6 separate regions of the Homo sapiens genome follow, and all the other regions are linked to region 1. Evidence: promoter capture Hi-C in human tissues and cell types (Jung and others, 2019). All regions are on one chromosome and are shown on one strand. The core of a region is centred on a gene start or on the middle of the fragment in contact, and the rest is flanking DNA. Distances in the headings are between cores, read along the strand shown.

Region 1 (2,995 bases), core at 211-2,710:
TTAGAGTCTAAAGTCAGATCATGACCGAGTTTAAACCCCAGCTGCTCCCCTCACATCTCCCTCTGCCTCAGTTTTCTCATCCCTAAAATGGGGATGATCATAATGGTACCCACTTCATAGACCTGTACTGCGGATTATACAGACTAAAGCACTTTGGAATGGCTAGCTGCTCTCACCCTTCCTGTTACAGTATTGAGTTCCAACGTCTCCCTGTAGAATGCTGGCACTTCGTGGGCAGGCCCTGGTTTTGTTCCTCTCTGCACATAACCCCAGGATGTGCTGGTTGCACAATAAATGGTCCCTTACATTTGTTACTAGGAGCAACCCCCACCCCAGCTTTGGCCCACTCCCCCTCCTTCCAGCCTGTGCCCTCCTCATGGCCCCAGAGCTGGGGAGGAGAGATGCATCTCTCAGGATAATCTCCAGCAGCCAGGTGCTCCCCACCTCCACCCAGGTCAGCAATAAACACCAGAGTCCTTGGGTTGGGGGGCAGGGTGGCTCAGGAGCTCTCTAAGGGCCAGAGGTTTTGCCTTGGCCCTGACAACCCCACCCCCACCCCTCCAAGCCTGAGTCTCTTCAAACTCTGCTCCTCCTGGCCTAGCCAGGCCTCCTGGAGAGGGACGGCGAGATGATAAGCGCTGGGGCTGAGAACGGGGCATCCAGACCTTGGAGTTCGGTCCTAGCTGCCCTGGCCAAGGTTTTGTTTGTCTAGTCCCAAGAGGCAGGCCCTTGGAGTCCAGGGAAGAGAGAAGGAACCACCTGGGCAGACAGACCCAAGCCAAGGGGCCAGGTGTCGCCAGCGTCCCCAATCTCCAGTCTGGCTCTGGCCCGCATGGCAGCTGGAAGGGCCAGAGCTGGGTGGGTTCTGTCAATGCTTCTACGGGGTGTGTAGGGGGTTGGCAGGAGTCACAAATGTTGGCCTTAGCTGCAGGGCAAATGCAGATAGGACCTCCACGGAGTGCCTGTTCCCAACCCAAGGGCACAGCAGAGCTAGGAGAGAGGCCTCAGGGTCCAGGAGGGAGAGGAGGTGTTCAGGCCCAGCTTCCCGGAGAGAGTGTGACTACAGACTAAAAGGGTCAAGGGAACAGGCCCACTTGGCCTGAGGATGAGGGCGCTGGAAGAAGGGGATGGGAGATTGGGTGCTTTTTCTTGATGGGGAGGGGCGACTTGAAGACGGCAATCAAGACCTAGATGACGTGTTTGGTCTGGGGTGGAGTGAGGACGCCAAGAGGGAAAGGACGGCGCCCTGAAGAGACCAGCTCAGGCGAAAACAGGGCTCTGCCCAGGCGGGGACCCAGCTGGGTGGAGGGCGGAGGCAGGAACCCAGGAAGCCGACTGAGCAAAGACTGCGTCCAGGCCCCGCCCCCATGAGCCCGGCCACGCCCCCTGGAGCCCAGCCCCGCCTCCCGGCCGCCCGCGCGCAGGTAGGGAAGAGGCGGAGCGCCGCCGCCCCGCCCCCGAGGAGCCACCGCCCAGCCGCTCGCAGGCGCCGCACGGAGTTGCGTCCCGGGGACTTGGGGCCGCAGGGAGGTGAGCGCGGGGCGACGAGCGGGGCAGGACTCACGGCCGCCCAGCCGCAGGCGCCGGAAGGGTCCCGAGGTTGTGCCCGAGCCTGCCCTGGAGCGGTGGTGCGCGGCCAGGAAGGGTGCCCAGTGCCCGGTGCCCGCCCTGCGGAGCGCCTGGGTCCCACGTGGGCTCGGCTGGAGGCCCGGGCTGGCTCAGACGGCGCCGGCGGGGCCGCTGGACCCGGTCTGCTGGCCCCTAGGGCTCGGCTCGGACAGGACGCCTAAGGGGTCCCTGGGCGACGGGGCGCCAGATGTAGGGGCAAGACGATTGGGCAGAGATTTAAACCTCCGGAGGAAGAGAGGAGACTGCGCAGGGCAGTCCCGCCTGCGTCCCAGAAGTGCCTGCAGTTCAGACCCTTCTCTCCCCTCCACTTTCTCCCGGGTGAGCACCGGGCGGACCGGGGCCGAAGTTTGTTGGTTGAGCCAGCCAAGGTGGAAACAGGTGCGGGGGTGGGGATGAGGGACTCACACAGCAGGGCTGGACCGGAGCTCAGAAATTGGACCCAGGAGTCCTGACTTCTGGATGGAGGGGCTGGGGAAGGTTGGCCCTGGGCTTGCCTTTTACCTGTTTGGCCCCTCGGATGTTCCCCCAGGGCATTGGGATAGAGACGGATAAGTTCCCTAGGGTACAGACCCCGCCCCACTCCCACGCCAGGGCGCAAAGGAAGCCTAGGTTTTGGCCCTGCCCCATTCCATGAAAGATTAACGGAGGGGGCTCTAGGGTTGGAGCTACTGAGAGGGTGGCAGCGGGTGTGTCTGAGGAGCAGAAGGCGGTGGGGAGCTGACCCCACTTGGGGAGAGGCTGCTGTTGCCTGGGCGGCTGGCATCAGGCCCCCAGTGTGTGCCATTTGCTGGTAATATAATGAGACCAGCATCTGCCTTATTCGACCCTCACTGTCCGTAGGGCAGGCAGTGGAAAGGGAGGCGTGTTTTAGAGCTGTGGTTCTCAACCAGGGGCGACTTTGCCTGCCATGGGATATTTGGCAATGTTGGAGTCATTTTGGGTGTCACACACTTGGGAGGGGAAGTGAGTGTTGTTGTTACTGGCAGGTAGTGGGTAGAGGCCAGGGACGCTACCAGACATCTTCAGGGCACGGAACAGCCCACATAACGAGGAATTATCCAGCCCAAGGTGTTGGGCTGTGCTGAGGCTGAGAAACCCTGCGCAGCAGCTGGTCCATCAGGTTCCTTCTCAATGATGCTCCCTCACTGGGGAAACTACCTCAGTTTTCCAGAGTGGTTAGGGGAGGAACTTGGAATAAACCTGAATGAGATGAGGGGTAAGGCAGTGTGAGGGCACTTATTCCCCTCACAAGAGTCTTCCTTTGGTGCCATGAGACACCGCCTTTCCCAATCTCCACTGGCCCTGCAGGAAGCTGGTCTAGGTGCTGTGGGGGAGAGGTTGGGAACAGAGGACCCCCTTGCAGCCC
Region 2 (2,792 bases), core at 1-2,500, 210 kb before region 1:
TTGGGTCATGTGGCTTTACTCTAGGAGGCTGGTTCTCTATTTTTGTCTTAGTTCAATTTTCTGCATCCTCAAATGCCAACCCCAGTATGTGGCTGGGTAGGTAGAACTGTGCTGCCTGCCTGCCATGGGGGCTGCTCTCCCTCCTTACCCCCACGCCCACAGCCCCCTTGGTTCTGTGGTGGGCACAGGATGTGTTTGGGTGTGAGTAAAGTCAAACTCTGAATGTATAATCTCTTGGTAGTAATATCTGAGTGGTGTTGCTACTCCTGCTTTTTAAAAAGACTTTTCTTGCCATCTATAAAAAGCTTTTTTCTTTTTCCCAGCATTGCTCCTGTGCTGCCACGCTTGCCCTTTTTCCTTACCTTCCTTTCAGTTTTCTATCAACAACTCCTCTAAACTTCAGTTTAAAATAAAAAACAGCCCAAAAAGGCTCTTTGCCACCAGGGGGCGTGGTAGGACACGTTGCCAGTGGTCTGGATAGGGGAGCAGAAATTTTGAATTTTAAAAATTAGCCACCAAGGCCAGGTGCAGTGGCTCACACCTGTAATCCCAGCACTTTGGGAAGCTGAGGCAGGGGGATTGCTTGAGTCCAGGAGTTCAAGACCAGTCTGGGCAACATAGTGAGATCCCATCTCTCAAAAAAATAATAATCTAGAAAATAAAGATTAGCCACCCAGTTTTCTTTCTCCAGATGCTAAAGTTGATTCCTGTTTGATAACAGTATTCCAGAAATGAGGGGAATAACATATCTGATAGGCCCAAGTCAGCTCTGGATAGTACAGTGTCTGGATAGTACAGATTCTGTGCTCCTGGGACATGCTTTGTTTATTCCTGCCAGGCCAGGGATTCAGCAGCCCTATTCCCCAACCCCCGTTACTGTCTCTGTGGGCTAGCCAGGCTGTCCGTTATGTAAGCACAACAGGGGCAAGGTGGGGAAACCGTGTGTGGAAAAGGAGTGGAGTGGTGGCGGGTGGCCAAGGTAGACTAGGAAGAGTGGGTACCCAGAGACCACTTGTTCAGAAGTTAACTCCTCTTCCCATCTGGCGTGAGCTACTCCATTGAATGGTGCCAACAACAGTAAAGTGAAGGAGATAATGTTAGATTATTTTCAGGGATGATTCTCCAAGATGACAGCAGATCTTAAAACCAAAGAGCTGGGTCCTGGAAGAAGGGATCTTGGATTATTAACTTCTGATGGAAGGACCAGAGTGGGAGAGAGAAGAGTTGGGGACCTAGAACATCAGGAGGACCCTGGGTCTTTGGGGATGAGGCTTCACCATCAGCTGGAAGAATCCATGCTTCACACACATGCCTCTGCCATTAGTGGTACTGGGATGTTTAGGGTGACATCCTTGAGGGGAGAGCCACTGAAAAGAGGGACATTCACATTTTGCTGTATTCTTGCAGCTGTCCGTGTCTTAATAATTCAAGCGTTCAATAGGTGTTTGAGGGCCAGGCACTGCTCTTGAGGTGCTGGAGATAACGGTGACAAGCCCAGGTCCCTGACAAGCTCCACAAGCTTAATGGACAGTGAATGTGCGGCTGTTGCGGCTGTTCACAGGGCCGCTGGTGAGGGCAGGTAGAAGAAAGTGCAGACCTTCTTAAATGCAGGTGTAACGGATCTACATGAAAGAGCATAATTAACACCAATGTATACTTAAGGTAGTAACAGCTTCTTCATAAAGTAGCAAAACTAAGGATCTGTGGGAAGGTTGCTGGTGCAAATGCTTTATAAGCTTACTAGAGACTGAGCCTTGGATTTAGGACTTTAGACGAGTATAGGATGGAACAAAATTTTTGCAGTAAATGTAAAAAATGCTGTGTAGGAGGAAGGCGTATAAGGATGCCCCAGCTGTAGGTTCTTTAGATTGTCTGTAGTATTTCCACGAGTAAGTTGTTTTTGATGTGTGTACTGGTATTGCTGGTAGATTTGAAGTGGAGTCTGGCGGCTTCTTCCACACTCCCCTCCCACTAGCTTGTGTCAAGATGTGACATCCTATGCAGCAAAACTAGGTGAGCTTGCACCCCCAGGCGGTGGCTCTCAACTTTGTCTCATTGTTCAGAAATTTCGGCCAGGCGCCGTAGCTCACCCCTGTAATCCCAGCACTTTGGGAGGCCATGGCAGGTGGATCACTTGAGGTCAGGAGTTCAAGACCAGCCTGGCCAACACGGTGAAACCCCGTCTCTACTAAAAATACAAAAATTAGCCAGGTGTGGTGGCACATGCCTGTAGTCCCAGCTACTTGGTCAACTCAGGCAGGAGAATCACTTGAACCCAGGAGGCAGAGGTTGCAGTGAGCTGAGATCAAGCCACTCCAGCCTGGGTGACAGACCGAGACTCTGTCTTTAAAAAAAAAGAAATGTCATCTAAGCCCCAGTGAACCTCCTGGGAGGAGAGCTAGCCCTGGCCAGCTGTCTCCAAAGTGACTGGATGCTACAGAAGAACTGGGACTGTCTTCTGCACACTCGTGCCTCCTGGAGTTGTCAGAACACTGAGCAGTCTCCTAGTTCTGCGTCCGTCTAGCCATGGGGTCTGCCATGAAAGCCTGTGGATCTGCTATTGGGTTGGTATTTTAAACTTTCACTTGGGTGAAACTTGTTCATCATTTTAAATAAAGCAACATGATTTGGAGTTGTGTTTTTGGCATTGTTTTGTCCTTATTTTCTTTCTTACTCATTTGAAAGTCAACAATGTACTTTGTCAGCAGAACAGGACTTTAAAAAAATGTATTTACACTTTAAAACAATGGGATGGAGCACAAAATTAAGGCCCTGGGCCAGGAGCATTGATG
Region 3 (2,840 bases), core at 2-2,501, 130 kb before region 1:
AGATGGGGTGGCGGCCGGGCAGAGGGGCTCCTCACTTCCCAGACGGGGCGGCGGTCAGAGGCGCCCCCGACCTCCCAGACGGGGCGGCGGCTGGGTGGGGGCTACCCCCACCTCCCGGACGGGGAGGCTGGCCGGGCGGGAGGACTTTTCTTTTTTTGAAACGGAGTCTCGTTTTGCCATCCAGGCTGGAGTGCAGTGGCGTGATCTCAGCTCCGTGTGAGACTTTTCTGACACTGTCTGTGGTCCTGTCTTCCTAGGCTCAGGATTCTTTTTTTTTCCAGGGGTCTTGTTAGACCTTTGGAACACTGCCAGGAAGCAGGGTCCTCTGACCTTGGAACTCACAGATCCCTCCTTCTCTCATTTCCGCCACCCACCAGAGTAAAGGATCTTTCCAGGGGAAGGACAATGATGGTAAGAAGTAGTAAAGTCCTTCCCCCTCATAACTTCTCCAAGATTGATCTGTTTCACTACATCTTGAACATGAAACCAAATCTTAACTGCTGGAGGTATGGGGGTGGGGTGGAGAGGGAAACAAATAACATTTCAAAATAGTATATAATTGTATTCAAAAGCATGACAGGCGTAGAAAAGGGATGCGGCTGTTCATGCCCTGAGGTACTAACAGTAGATTCTTTGAAGGGACTGGGATAATAGGAGGTTGCTATCCTTTCATGTTTTAAGGCAGTTTCTGCTTTTTCCGTAATAAGCACACATTGCTTTTATAAAAATAAAAATAATTCATAAAAGTTCACTTCTGAAGACTCAGGAGAAAAAGACTCAGCTTAGGTAACCCCTACATACCAAAGTATCCCCCCGAGCAGAACTGCCTCCCTAGGCTGTCACCACTGCCTCGCACACGTATGACTAATATCATACCGATGACACTTTAAGGCAGCTGCTTATACTCATGTCTGTTTCTCTTATAGACTGTGAGCCTCTTAAAACCAGTGACCATTGCTTTTTTTATCTTTAATCTCTAGCAGATACCTCTGAATGCCTGTCATGTCATGGCTACTCAATGAATATTGCAGAATAAACATTGCATTGTGTTGTCAAGTTCTCGTAGAACTTTCCATAAGATGTCTCATTTAGTTGGTTTGTTGTTGTTATTGTTGTTGTTGTTTTGAGACAGAGTCTCTCTTTGCTGCCCAGACTGGAGTGCAGTGATGCGATCCCTGCTCACTGCAACCTCCACCTCGCAGGCTCAAACAATTCTCCTGCCTCAGCCTCCAGAGTAGCTGGGATTACAGGCGTGCACCACCACACCCAGCCGTTTGTATTTTTAGTAGAGACAGGGTTTCGCCATGTTGGCCAGGCTGGTCTCGAATTCCTGACCTCAAGTGATCCGCCTGCTTCAGCCTCCCAAAGTGCTGGGATTACAGGCGTAGGACATCTAACTTTCAAACCAGCTGACTGGCATTCTGGCCCACAGTGAATTCAGCTAGGCGAAGGGCATCTCTGAGAATGCTGGGGACCTGTCTGTTCAGGGGGAGCTCTGGAAGCTGTATCCAGCCACTGAAGTATGATGAGCAGCAACTGACTCATTTTCCTTCTGTTTTCTCTCGAGTCCCAGAACATAATAACATCCCCACTAGAATCTCCCCACTAAGATTGAGGTGGCTGAAAACCACCACACAGGCTTTGATTTGAGAAAAGAACACTCAGAATAACAAGAGAAAATGGATTTCTGCCATTTTTTTCCAGCATACAAAGATAATTAAGGCAATCATACAGCTTTTAGTCATGGAAGCAGCGTATAGACACATCTAAAGTCAAAGTAAAGTCGTAAAAATAAAGCATTCATTCACTTTTAGAAAACTTTCAGGATTTTCCAAGGAAGATAAACTTTGGAGTTTGTTTTTTGTTTTTGTTTTTTTTGAGACAGAGTCTTGCTGTATCACTCAGGCTGGAGTGCAGTGGTACGATCTCAGCTCACTGCAACCTCTGCCTCCCGAGTTCAAGCGATTCTCCTGCCTCAGCCTCCCAAGTAGCTGGGATTACAGGCATGCACCACCATGCCCAGCTAATTTTTGTATTTTTAATAGAGATGGGGTTTCACCATGTTGGCCAGGCTGGTCTCGAACTCCTGACCTCAGGTGATCCACCCCCCACCCCCACCCCCGGCCTCCCAAAGTGCTGGGATTACAGGCGTGAGGCACCACGCCTGGCCAACTTTAGAGTTGGAAAAGAAAAAGCAGAATGGCTGGTTTCTATCTCACATAAGACAGGAGACCCCGAAGAACTGATCAAATACCAAAAGGAGGCTGGAATAGCCCTCGTGGACACCAAGGGGGTCTTGGGAACTCCAGGCCCAGCTAACAATGTGGGGCACAGGAGGCAGGAGCAGTTCAAGGTAGAGAGCTCCACAGCAGGGAGTGGAGAGGGACACAGGGCAGAGCGAAGTGTTAGTTTGTCCTCCTTTCAAGGAGAAGCAGCATCAAAGCTGTGGGAACCAAACATGTAACCTGGAAGAGGAAAGCTCACCCAGCCAGGGGGCCTGAGATAAAATGAGGGCAAAGTTGATGGTGGGGACTGAGAAAGAGCCCAGGACTTAAGGACGTAAGTAGAGGCGATTCTGTGTGACCAGCCATTCCCACATACCAGGCGCAACTCACCTGCAGCCACTTCCGCTCGCTCTCCATGCCATAGAAGGCGGGAGCCCAGGTGCAAAATTATTTAGCGAATCAAAGGAGTCTTTTCAGCTCTTTTCTTATCCTCCTCCATAAAATAATCTTCTACTCATACTGGCTTTGTTAGTGAGTGACCTTTCCTTGGGGTATTTTTTCAAAATTCAGTTTCAGCCTCTTCAATATCCTAGTCAACTTCAACATTCCTGTGTT
Region 4 (3,130 bases), core at 184-2,683, 150 kb before region 1:
TGGGATTACAGGCCTGCGCCACCACGTCCAGCTAATTTTGTATTTTTAGTAGAGATGGGGTTTCACCATGTTGGCCAGGCTGGTCTTGAACTCCTGACCTCAGGTGATCTGCCCACCTCGGCCTCCCAAAGTGCTGGAATTACAGGCGTGAGCTACCATGACCGGCCACATTTTCCCACTTGTATTGATTGTCCAGTTCCTGATTCTGGAGGTACTCCCAAATCAGTGCAATATTTGTCACAGTTCTAAAGAATATTTTGCGGCTATGCGTGGTAGCTCACACTCGTAATCCCAGCACTTTGGGACGCCAAGGCATGAGGACTGTTTGAGCCCAGGAGCTCCAGACAAGCTCGGGAAACATACTGAGACTCTGTCTCTACAAAAATTTAAAAAATTAAATTAAACTAAATTTTGCAATAGTAAAAACCTCATATTGCTCCTAGGTTTGGATAAATTGGATCTAGACATAACACGTGAAATGTGATGCCATTTCTTTATGTTGGCAACTAGATGGACATTGAACACTAAAATTGTGGACAGTTCGTTTTTTATAAAAATGCTTTTACAGGCATACCTTGTTTTATTGCATTTCACTTTACTGTATTTTGCAGATAGATAGTGCAATTTTACAAACTGAAGGTCTATAGCAACCCTCCATCAAGTAAGTCTATCAGCCTCATGTTTCCAACAGCAAGTGCTCACTTCATGTCTGTGTCACATTTTGGTAATTCTTGCGATATTTCAAACTTTTTCTTTCTTTTTCCTTTTTTTCTTTCTTTCTTCCTTTCTTTTTTTTTTTTTTTTTGACAGAGTCTCGCTCTATCGCCCAGGCTGGAGTGCAGTGACGTGATCTCAGCTCGCTGCAACCTCCACCTCCTGGGTTCAAGGGATTCTTCGGCCTCAGCCTCCCCAGTAAATGGAACTACAGGTGCATGCCACCATGCCCGACTAATTTTTATATTTTTAGTAAAGACGGGGGTTTCACCATGTTGGCCAGGCTGGTCTCGAACTCCTGACCTCAAGTGATCTGCCTTGGTCTCCCAAAGTGTTAGGATTACAGGCATGAGCCACTGCACCTGGCCACCAAACATTTCCTTTTTTTTTTTTTTTTGAGATGGAGTCTCACTCTGTTGCCCAGGCTGGAGTGCAGTGGCGCGATCTTGGCTCACTGCAACCTCCGCCTCCCAGATTCAAGTGACTCTCCTGCCTCAGTCTCCTGGGTAGCTGGGATTACAGGTGCATGCCACCATGCCCAGCTAATTTTTTGTATTTTTAGTAGAGATGGGTTTCACGGTGTTAGCCAGGATTGTCGTGATCACCTGACCTCGTGATCCGCCCACCTCAGCCTCCCAAAGTGCTGGGATTACAGGCATGAGTCACCACAACCAGCCATATTTACTGAATATTTTAAGCCCACTGTTGAGATCTACTGCTAAGAAGAAAAGACTCTTTTGAAAATATTACTGCTCATTGACAATGCACCTGGTCACCCAAGAGTTCTGATGAAGATATACAAGGAGATTAATGTTTTCATGCCTGTCAACGCAACGTTTATTCTGCAGCCCATGGAATAAGGAGTAATATTAACTTTCAAGTCTTATTATTCAAGCAATATATTTTATAAGGATATAGCTGCCATAGATAGTGATTTCTCTGATGGATCTAGGCAAAGTAAGTTGAAAACCTTCTGGAAAGGATTCATCATTTTAGAGTCCCTGAAGAACATTCATGATTCATGGGCAGAGGTCAAAATATCAACATAACAGGAGTTTGGAAGAAGTTGGTTCCAACCTTGGTGGATGACTTTGAGGGACTTAAGACTTCAGTAGAAGAAGTCACCACAGATGTGGTGTAAACAGCAAGAGAAGCAGAATTAGAGGTGGAGCCTGAAGATGTGGCTGAGTTGCTGCAATCTCATGATCAAACTTCTACAGATTAGAAGTTGCTTCTTATGCATGCACCAAGAGGGTTTCTTGAGATGGAATCTACTCCTCTGAACACTGTTGAAATGAAAACAGCCCCCACTGGCTGCTCTGAAAAGCCATCTTTGCATTGTTCCTCGTCTGGCTCCTTGGTTCCTCCTCCGTGGACTCCAGCAGCTTTATCACCAGAGTCCTCGAATTCTCGATTCCTTTTTAATCCCCTGTATCAGATCACCGGCATGCCCCATCATGTCAGATGCAGCCATAGACACCAGCTCCGAGATCACCACCAAGGACTTAAAGGAGAAGAAGGAAGTTGTGGAGGAGGCGGAAATGGAAGAGATGCCTCTGCTAATGGGAACACTAATGAGGAAAATTGGGAGCAGGAGGTTGACAATGAGGTAGATGAAGAAGAGGAAGAAGGTGATGGTGAGGAAGAGGATGGAGATGAAGACGAGGAAGCTGAGTTTGCTATGGGCAAGTGAGTAGCTGAAGATGATAAGGATGATGATGTCCATACCAAGAAGCAGAAGATTGATGAGGACAACTAGACAGCAAAAAAGGAAAAATTAAACTAAAAAAAAAAAAAATGACTGTGACCTAGTCACCCTCTACTTCCTGTCTCAGAATCCAAACGTAGTCACCTTCAGGTAGAGAGACCACCCGCAGATGACACGCACTCTCCACCACCCAACTCAAACCATGAGAATTTGCAACAGGGGAGGAAAAAAGAACCAAAACTTCCAAGGCCCTGCTCTTTTTCTTCAAAGTACTGAAAATGCAACCATAAAAAAGAATGAGTTCATGTCCTTTGCAGGGACATGGAGGAAGCTGGAAGTCATCATTCTCAGCAAATTAACACAGGAATAGAAAATCAAACACCGCATGTTCTCACTCATAAGTGGGAGTTGAACAATGAGAACACATGGACACAAGGAGGGGAACATCACACACCTGGGCCTCTTGGGGCAGGGGCAGAGGGTTGGGGAAGGGGAGGGAGAGCATTAGGACAAATACCTAATGCATGCAGGGCTTAAAACCTAGATGACAGGTTGATAGGTGCAGCAAACCACCATGGCACATGTATACCTATGTAACAAACCTGCATGTTCTGCACATGTATCCCAGAACTTAAAGTAAAATTTTTTTAAAAAGACTAATCTTATTGTAGGAATATTACTATGATTATTAGTATGAATTCACCTCCA
Region 5 (3,108 bases), core at 62-2,561, 230 kb after region 1:
CGGGGACGAGGCCCAGAAGGGGCTGAAGTTTGCAGGTGGGGAGCAGGCTGCGGCTGTCATGGGGCTGTTGCTGCTCTGCAGGCCCTCGGAGGCGCGGAGCTTGGAGAACATGGCCAGCGCATCGGGGAAGTTGGGCGGCGTGGCAGGGGTGTTGCTGGGAGTGCACATCTGCGGGAGAGAACACGGGTGTGGGGAGGCTGCCTCGGGGGTCCCCGAGCCACTGGATGGGGCTTACCCAGGCCAGCCGCTCCTTTACTCCCATTTTTCAGCTTCATTCATTTTCGCACAAGCAGCTTCCACAGGACAAAAGTGCCCTCTCCCCGAGGCAATACAAACAGAAAACAAGGACAAAACCCAAGAACCTTATCAAAACCAACGGGGTTTCATGAGGCCTGGAAATGACACCCCGAGGAGCATTCAAAGTAAATGGTTAATTGCACCCAGGAGCTAAGGTGTCAGATTAAAGTGAAAGGGCAAGGGGGCAGCCCAGGACACCACTGTTCCGCACCTTCCCTGGGCAGGGAGACCAGCTGACTGCCCCACCAGCCACCCTCAGATGCTCCCAGGCTGCTAGGCAAGGGAGAGCGGCCAGCGGGGAGGCTCTCCCTCCTGTGCCAACCCTGGAAAAGTTAAGCCACCTTGGTGGATGGGTTCACACCACACTAAGGGTGACAGCCACCAGGCCTTGAAGGCTTTGCCTCCCTTAACAATGACACTTAGTGGCTTCAATTATCCTCTCTTTATGACAAATGAGGAAACTGAGGCCCAGAAGTCAAGTCACTTGCCCGAAAATGCACCCACAGCAGAGGGCAAGTTGAGAAGACGGACCTCCCCAGCTCCCAAGTCTGCAGGCCCAAGCTCTTAACATCTACTGGGCCACGCTGCACAGAGTCAAGAGCCCCTTTATATCTGGGCCCCTTGAGGACACAAACCAGGGATTTCAATGTCCTGTGTCTGTAGCCTCAGGCCACAAACACAGCTGGCCTGCCCTTGCCTGCAGGCTGGCAGTTTCTCAGTCTGTCCAGCCCCTCAGTCCTCTTCCTGGGGGTAGCTACAGTCCCCCATCTGCTGTCTTCTGTCACTACCCTGGGGGCAGGGGCTGGAGTGCCATCCAGGAGCACCTCGTCAGCAGCATGGGCAAGAGGCAACACAGAGAACAAGACCACACAAAACTGGCTGGGACCTCAAAGCTGCTTTCTCCCTTTCCCAGGAAGCCACAGGAGTCCTTCTTTGAATTTCTCCTAATTTTAGCAACACTGGCCCCTCCCCCAGGCGCAGGAGTTGGGGGAACGACTTGAGGGCTCTTCACCTTGAAAGAGGGAGCTTTGGCAGGGCGCAGTGGCTCACGTCTGTAATCCCAGCACTTTGGGAGGCCGAGGCGGGTGGATCACCTGAGGTTAGGAGTTCGAGACCAGCCTGACCAACATGGTGAAACCCTGTCTCTATTAAAAAATACAAAAATTAGCTGGGTGTGGTGATGGGCGTCTATAATCCCAGCTACTTGGGAGGTTGAGGCCGGAGAATCACTTGAACCCGGGAGGTGGAGGTTGTAGTGAGCTGAGATCACGTCACTGCACTCCAGCCTAGGTGGCAGAGCAAAACTCCGTCTCAAAAAAAAAAAAAAAAAAAACAGAGGGAGCTTTCACAGCTAGAAACCGGAGGTTGTGTAGGGGGTGTGTAACATACATGGAATGGGGACACTAGCACACCCTGTCCATTGAGCCCCACACCATGTCAGCACCCAGGGCACCAAGGGAGCTCTGACCCTTGCCTTTCTAGGGGTCCTCAGGGGGAGGCCAAAGGACCCAATGCAGAGGCCTGGCCCCACCCAGACCTTTCCCCTCCTCCCTCCACTACTCCCTGCCCCCCCCCCACCCTCTGGGGATGACTTCTCGGCAGCAGGAAACAATGAATGAAGGGTGGGGGTGGAGGCCAATTGCATCACAGCATCGTGACCGACTTCCCCAGTTCCCCGCCAGCCAGCGAGGCCTGTCTCCTCAAACAGCCGCCAGAGAACAGCAGGGATGATGGCTGGCAGGCCTGTGGTGGCCTGCCTGTGTAAGCTTGGGCAAGTTCCTGAACCTCTCTGGAGCTTCTCTCTGCTTTTGTAAAATGAGGGTTTTGAACCAGATATGCCCTCTCGGCCAGTTCTCAAGAAAACCCATTGTCCCCTGTACCTTTGTCCTCCCACTTCAAGTCTGTAGTGCCTTTCTCCACTTCCAACTGGGAAGCCCTCCTTATCAACTGGGAAGCTTCCAACTATGGGAATCTACAGTAATGTACGGGACAACCATTTATCAGTTACTCATGACTTCTGGTTTTGCCATTTTGCTGTTACTGGTCTCTAGTGTTTCGTTTTTTGATCTTTTTCCTTTGACTTACTTTGTCCAAAATAAATTGCCAGGCCGGGTGCAGTGGCTCACGCCTGTAATCCCTGAACTTTGGGAGGCCGAGGCAGGCGGACCACCTGAGGTTGGGAGTTCGAGACCAGCCTGATCAACATGGAGAAACCCCGTCTCTACTAAAAATACAAAATTAGCCAGGTGTGGGATTACAGGTGGCACGTGCCTGTAATCCCATGAGGCAGGAGAATCGTTTGAACCCAGGAGGTGAAGGTTGCGGTGAGCCGAGATCACACCATTGCACTCCGCCTAGGCAATAAGAGTGAAACTCTGTCTCAAAAAAAAAAAAAAAGAAAAGAAATTGCCAGCTGGGTGCAGTGGCTCACACCTATAATCCCAGCACTTCGGGAGGCTGAGGCGGAAGGATAGCTTGAGGCCAGGAGTTCAAGACCAGCTTGGGCCACATAGAGACTCCCCCTGCCCTGGCCTTTCTCAAAAATAAAATTAGAAAAAAAAAAAAAAAAAAAAAGAAACCATGAACTTTTTGAGAGCAGGGATGGTGTCCTCCACTGTGCTGCTAAGGCACTCAGACTTGGGCACTGATGGACACACTGGTTATGTGTGTTACAAAACCTGCTGCCTTCCTTGAGGGAAGCTTCAAAAGAGACTTAGCATCTCCTTGGGATTTGCAGAGGAGGGGCAATAGGAACTAAACAGGATGCCAGACCAGCTCTTCCTGGGGAGCCTCCCTGTTCTCAGCCCCTCA
Region 6 (2,857 bases), core at 211-2,710, 170 kb after region 1:
CTTTAGTTCTTTGTCCATGTGGAAGGTTGTAGCCTTCTCTACATTAAGGCTTTATTAAGGTTAACAATCAAGCCTGTGACTGCAGTGCTTAATCACAGTACCCCGTCTTCAGTCTGCTGGTAGGAAGCAGGAGTTGAGCATCTAGTTTAGGTCCACTGTAGCCATTTACCTGTAGGGGTGAACTTTGTAATTTTTTGTTTTAAAATTTCAGGTTTAACTCACATTATCACTATGGATCTTCATCAAAAGGAAATACAAGGCTTTTTCAGCTTTCCTGTGGACAACCTTAGAGCCTCACCTTTCCTGCTTCAGTATATCCAGGAAGAAGTGAGGAACCACCAGCAAACACCCCATTGTCCTCAAAAGAGATCTTATTTAGTTTTTCTCTGGTATCAGATTTCGTTACTGGAAGGCACATCAAATGAGCTCTCCCTTAAGTCACAATGCCTGAGGCAGCAGACAGGGTCAGCTTTAGTCGTGGACGATCATAGCTTTAAAAGACACTAAAAACAGATTTTTTTTCTACGTATCTTTAGCAATTTGCTTATGTTTTCTAAAATGAATGTTTTAAGAATTATTTTTAAAAAATTCTTGACGTAGGAGTGCTTTTTCCAGTGATGTTAATTGATAAATATTGAAAAATCTAAAACTTGTGACTAAAATTCTAGCATATTTGATGACTAGTTTGGATCATTATAAGAGGGAAAACTTGAATACCAGCATCCAGGTGTTATTTTCTGATAACTTTTCAGTATTTTCTATTTTTCCTTCAAATCTAGATTCCAAATTACAGAAATGCAGTCATTGTAGCTAAGTCTCCTGATGCTGCAAAGAGGTAAGTAAGCTAGACATGGGTCCTGATCCCTCCTGAGTGCTCCCGAAGTCAGAATGAGCTGCTTTGGAATCCAGAGGCTGTCACTCGTGGCCTTTGAAAGCCCACTGGCTCTCATGTTAACCCCTCCATCGTTGTCATGTCCCATGCCACACACAGCTTTATCTCCAGCCTCCAGACAGCACACATGATCGCTGAGTTGCTCAGCTTTCCTCTGGGAAAACAAAGTTCCTTCAAGTTCTCAGAGAAAGGAAAGCAATGAGGCTATGAGCATTTTTCAAGCAATGGTTTTTTTTTTTGTTTTTTTTTTGAAATGGAGTTTCATTCTGTCACCTAGGCTGGAGTGCAATGGCGCGATCTCGGCTCACTGCAACCTCCGCCTCCTGGGTTCAAGCAGCTCTCCTGCCTCAGCCTCCCCAGTAGCTGGGATTACAGGCGCCTGTCACCACTCCTGGCTAGTTTTTTGTATTTTTAGTAGAGATGGGGTTTCACCATGTTCATCAGACTAGTCTTGAACTCCTGACCTCAAGTGATCTGTCTGCCTTGGTCTCCCAAAGTGCTGGGTTTACAGGCGTAAGCCACTGTGCCCGGCCCAGGCAATGGTTTTTAACGTTGTTCTTTCTTCTGAAGATGACTATCAGAATATTGGACAAAGGATAGAATCAAAATTATCTAGAATCAGGGCCAGGCGGGGTGGCTCACGCCTGTAATTCCAGCACTTTGGGAGGCCAAAGCGGGAGATCGCTTGAGCCCAGGGGTTCAAGACCAGCCTGGGCAACATAGACCCCGTCTCTACAAAATACAAAAAATAGCCAGTTGTGGCAACACATGCCTGTGGTCCCCGCTACTCGGGAGGTTGAGGTGGGAGGATCACCTGAGCCTCAGGAGGTTGAGGCTGCAGTGAGCCATGTTGACGCCACTGCACTCCAGCCTGGGTGACAGTGAGACCTTGTCTCAAAAAAAAAAAAAAATGTCTAGAATCAGATACAATCCCAAACCCTAACTCACGTGCCCTTTGAGTCATTTACATGCTGGCCTGGGCCTCACATTCTCATTTATATAAATAATGCCTTTGTATGTCCCTGAAACGTTAAATATTTTCATTTTATGGTTAAAAAATGATGCCGTAGTGATGCGTGGGATTTCTTCCTGTCAGTTTCACCATTTCCCTTTGTCCTTCTAGGGCCCAGTCCTATGCGGAGAGACTGCGTCTGGGTTTGGCCGTCATTCACGGGGAAGCTCAGTGCACGGAACTGGACATGGACGATGGTCGTCACTCCCCGCCTATGGTCAAAAATGCTACTGTGCACCCAGGCCTGGAGTTGCCATGTAAGATGAGCTCTGTGTTTTTATTTTATTTGTAAATTGAAGAAAGTTTTTTTTTGTTGGTTTTGTTGGTTTTGTTGTTGTTGTTTTGTTTTGTTTTGTTTTGTTTTTGAGATGGAGTCTCACTCTGTCACCCAGGCTAGAGTGCAGTGGCGTGATCTTGGCTGACTGCAACCTCTGCCTCCTGGGTTCAAGCAATTCTCCTGCCTCAGCCTCGTGAGTGGCAAAGATTACAGGTGTGTGCCACCACGCCCAGCTAATTTTTGTATTTTTAGTAGAGACAGGGTTTCACCATGTTGGCCAGGCTGGTCTCAAACTCCAGACCTCGTGATCTGCTCCAGACCTGGTGATCTGCTCGCCTCAGCCTCCCAGAGTGCTGGGATTACAGGCATGAGCCACTGCACCTGGCCCTGAAGAAAGTTTTAAGTAGTATGAATGGCTAGGAGTTATCGACTATGTAGATATATGCTGTCTTGTTGTTTTTTAATAATGGAATGGTATTTGCTATCCTCCGCCTTTTTTTTTTTTTTTTTGAGAAAGGATCTCCCCCTGTTGCTCTGTACAGTGGCACAGTCATGGCTCACTGCAGCCTTGACCGGGGCGCAAGTGATTCTCCCACCTCCGCCTCCTGGGTAGCTGGGACTGTAGGGGTACACTACCATGCCTGGATAGTTTTCTGTTCCTTTTTTTTTCTTTTTG

What was found. Contacts are between HindIII fragments. The study calls those that stand out against the background at their distance.
Region 2: a contact is called between a fragment that was not itself captured here and the fragment with the promoter of RHBDF2 in region 1, in 4 of the 25 tissues and cell types used here (H1 embryonic stem cells, IMR-90 fibroblasts, mesenchymal stem cells and 1 more).
Region 3: a contact is called between a fragment that was not itself captured here and the fragment with the promoter of RHBDF2 in region 1, in 1 of the 25 tissues and cell types used here (lymphoblastoid cells).
Region 4: a contact is called between a fragment that was not itself captured here and the fragment with the promoter of RHBDF2 in region 1, in 2 of the 25 tissues and cell types used here (adrenal gland and pancreas).
Region 5: a fragment that was not itself captured here is called in contact with the fragment with the promoter of RHBDF2 in region 1 in 1 of the 25 tissues and cell types used here (dorsolateral prefrontal cortex).
Region 6: a fragment that was not itself captured here is called in contact with the fragment with the promoter of RHBDF2 in region 1 in 3 of the 25 tissues and cell types used here (IMR-90 fibroblasts, aorta and mesenchymal stem cells).

Annotation. Positions count from the first base shown.
Region 1 is chr17:76,499,888-76,502,882 of GRCh38, reverse strand. It overlaps RHBDF2 (rhomboid 5 homolog 2), which reads left to right and starts at 1,460. Exons shown (of 19, transcript NM_001005498.4): 1 at 1,460-1,530. RefSeq lists enhancers at 1,043-1,182, 1,533-2,202 and a silencer at 1,233-1,872. The HindIII fragment of the contact is 32,589 bases long and covers 1-2,995 here.
Region 2 is chr17:76,712,676-76,715,467 of GRCh38, reverse strand. It overlaps a transcript of JMJD6 not described here. Among named protein-coding and RNA genes, the nearest start is that of MXRA7, 3.1 kb to the right of the region's middle. The HindIII fragment of the contact is 3,371 bases long and covers 1-2,792 here.
Region 3 is chr17:76,633,922-76,636,761 of GRCh38, reverse strand. The region is part of intron 1 of ST6GALNAC1 (ST6 N-acetylgalactosaminide alpha-2,6-sialyltransferase 1); the gene reads left to right. Among named protein-coding and RNA genes, the nearest start is that of ST6GALNAC1, 8.4 kb to the left of the region's middle. The HindIII fragment of the contact is 7,403 bases long and covers 1-2,840 here.
Region 4 is chr17:76,650,975-76,654,104 of GRCh38, reverse strand. It overlaps the pseudogene PTMAP13. Among named protein-coding and RNA genes, the nearest start is that of ST6GALNAC1, 8.8 kb to the right of the region's middle. The HindIII fragment of the contact is 8,814 bases long and covers 1-3,130 here.
Region 5 is chr17:76,267,254-76,270,361 of GRCh38, reverse strand. UBALD2 (UBA like domain containing 2) reads right to left here. Exons shown (of 3, transcript NM_182565.4): 3 at 1-168. Among named protein-coding and RNA genes, the nearest start is that of UBALD2, 3.5 kb to the right of the region's middle. RefSeq lists enhancers at 112-301, 2,002-2,231. The HindIII fragment of the contact is 4,243 bases long and covers 1-3,108 here.
Region 6 is chr17:76,328,021-76,330,877 of GRCh38, reverse strand. PRPSAP1 (phosphoribosyl pyrophosphate synthetase associated protein 1) reads left to right here. Exons shown (of 10, transcript NM_002766.3): 5 at 212-327; 6 at 780-835; 7 at 2,016-2,161. Among named protein-coding and RNA genes, the nearest start is that of QRICH2, 21 kb to the right of the region's middle. The HindIII fragment of the contact is 4,882 bases long and covers 1-2,857 here.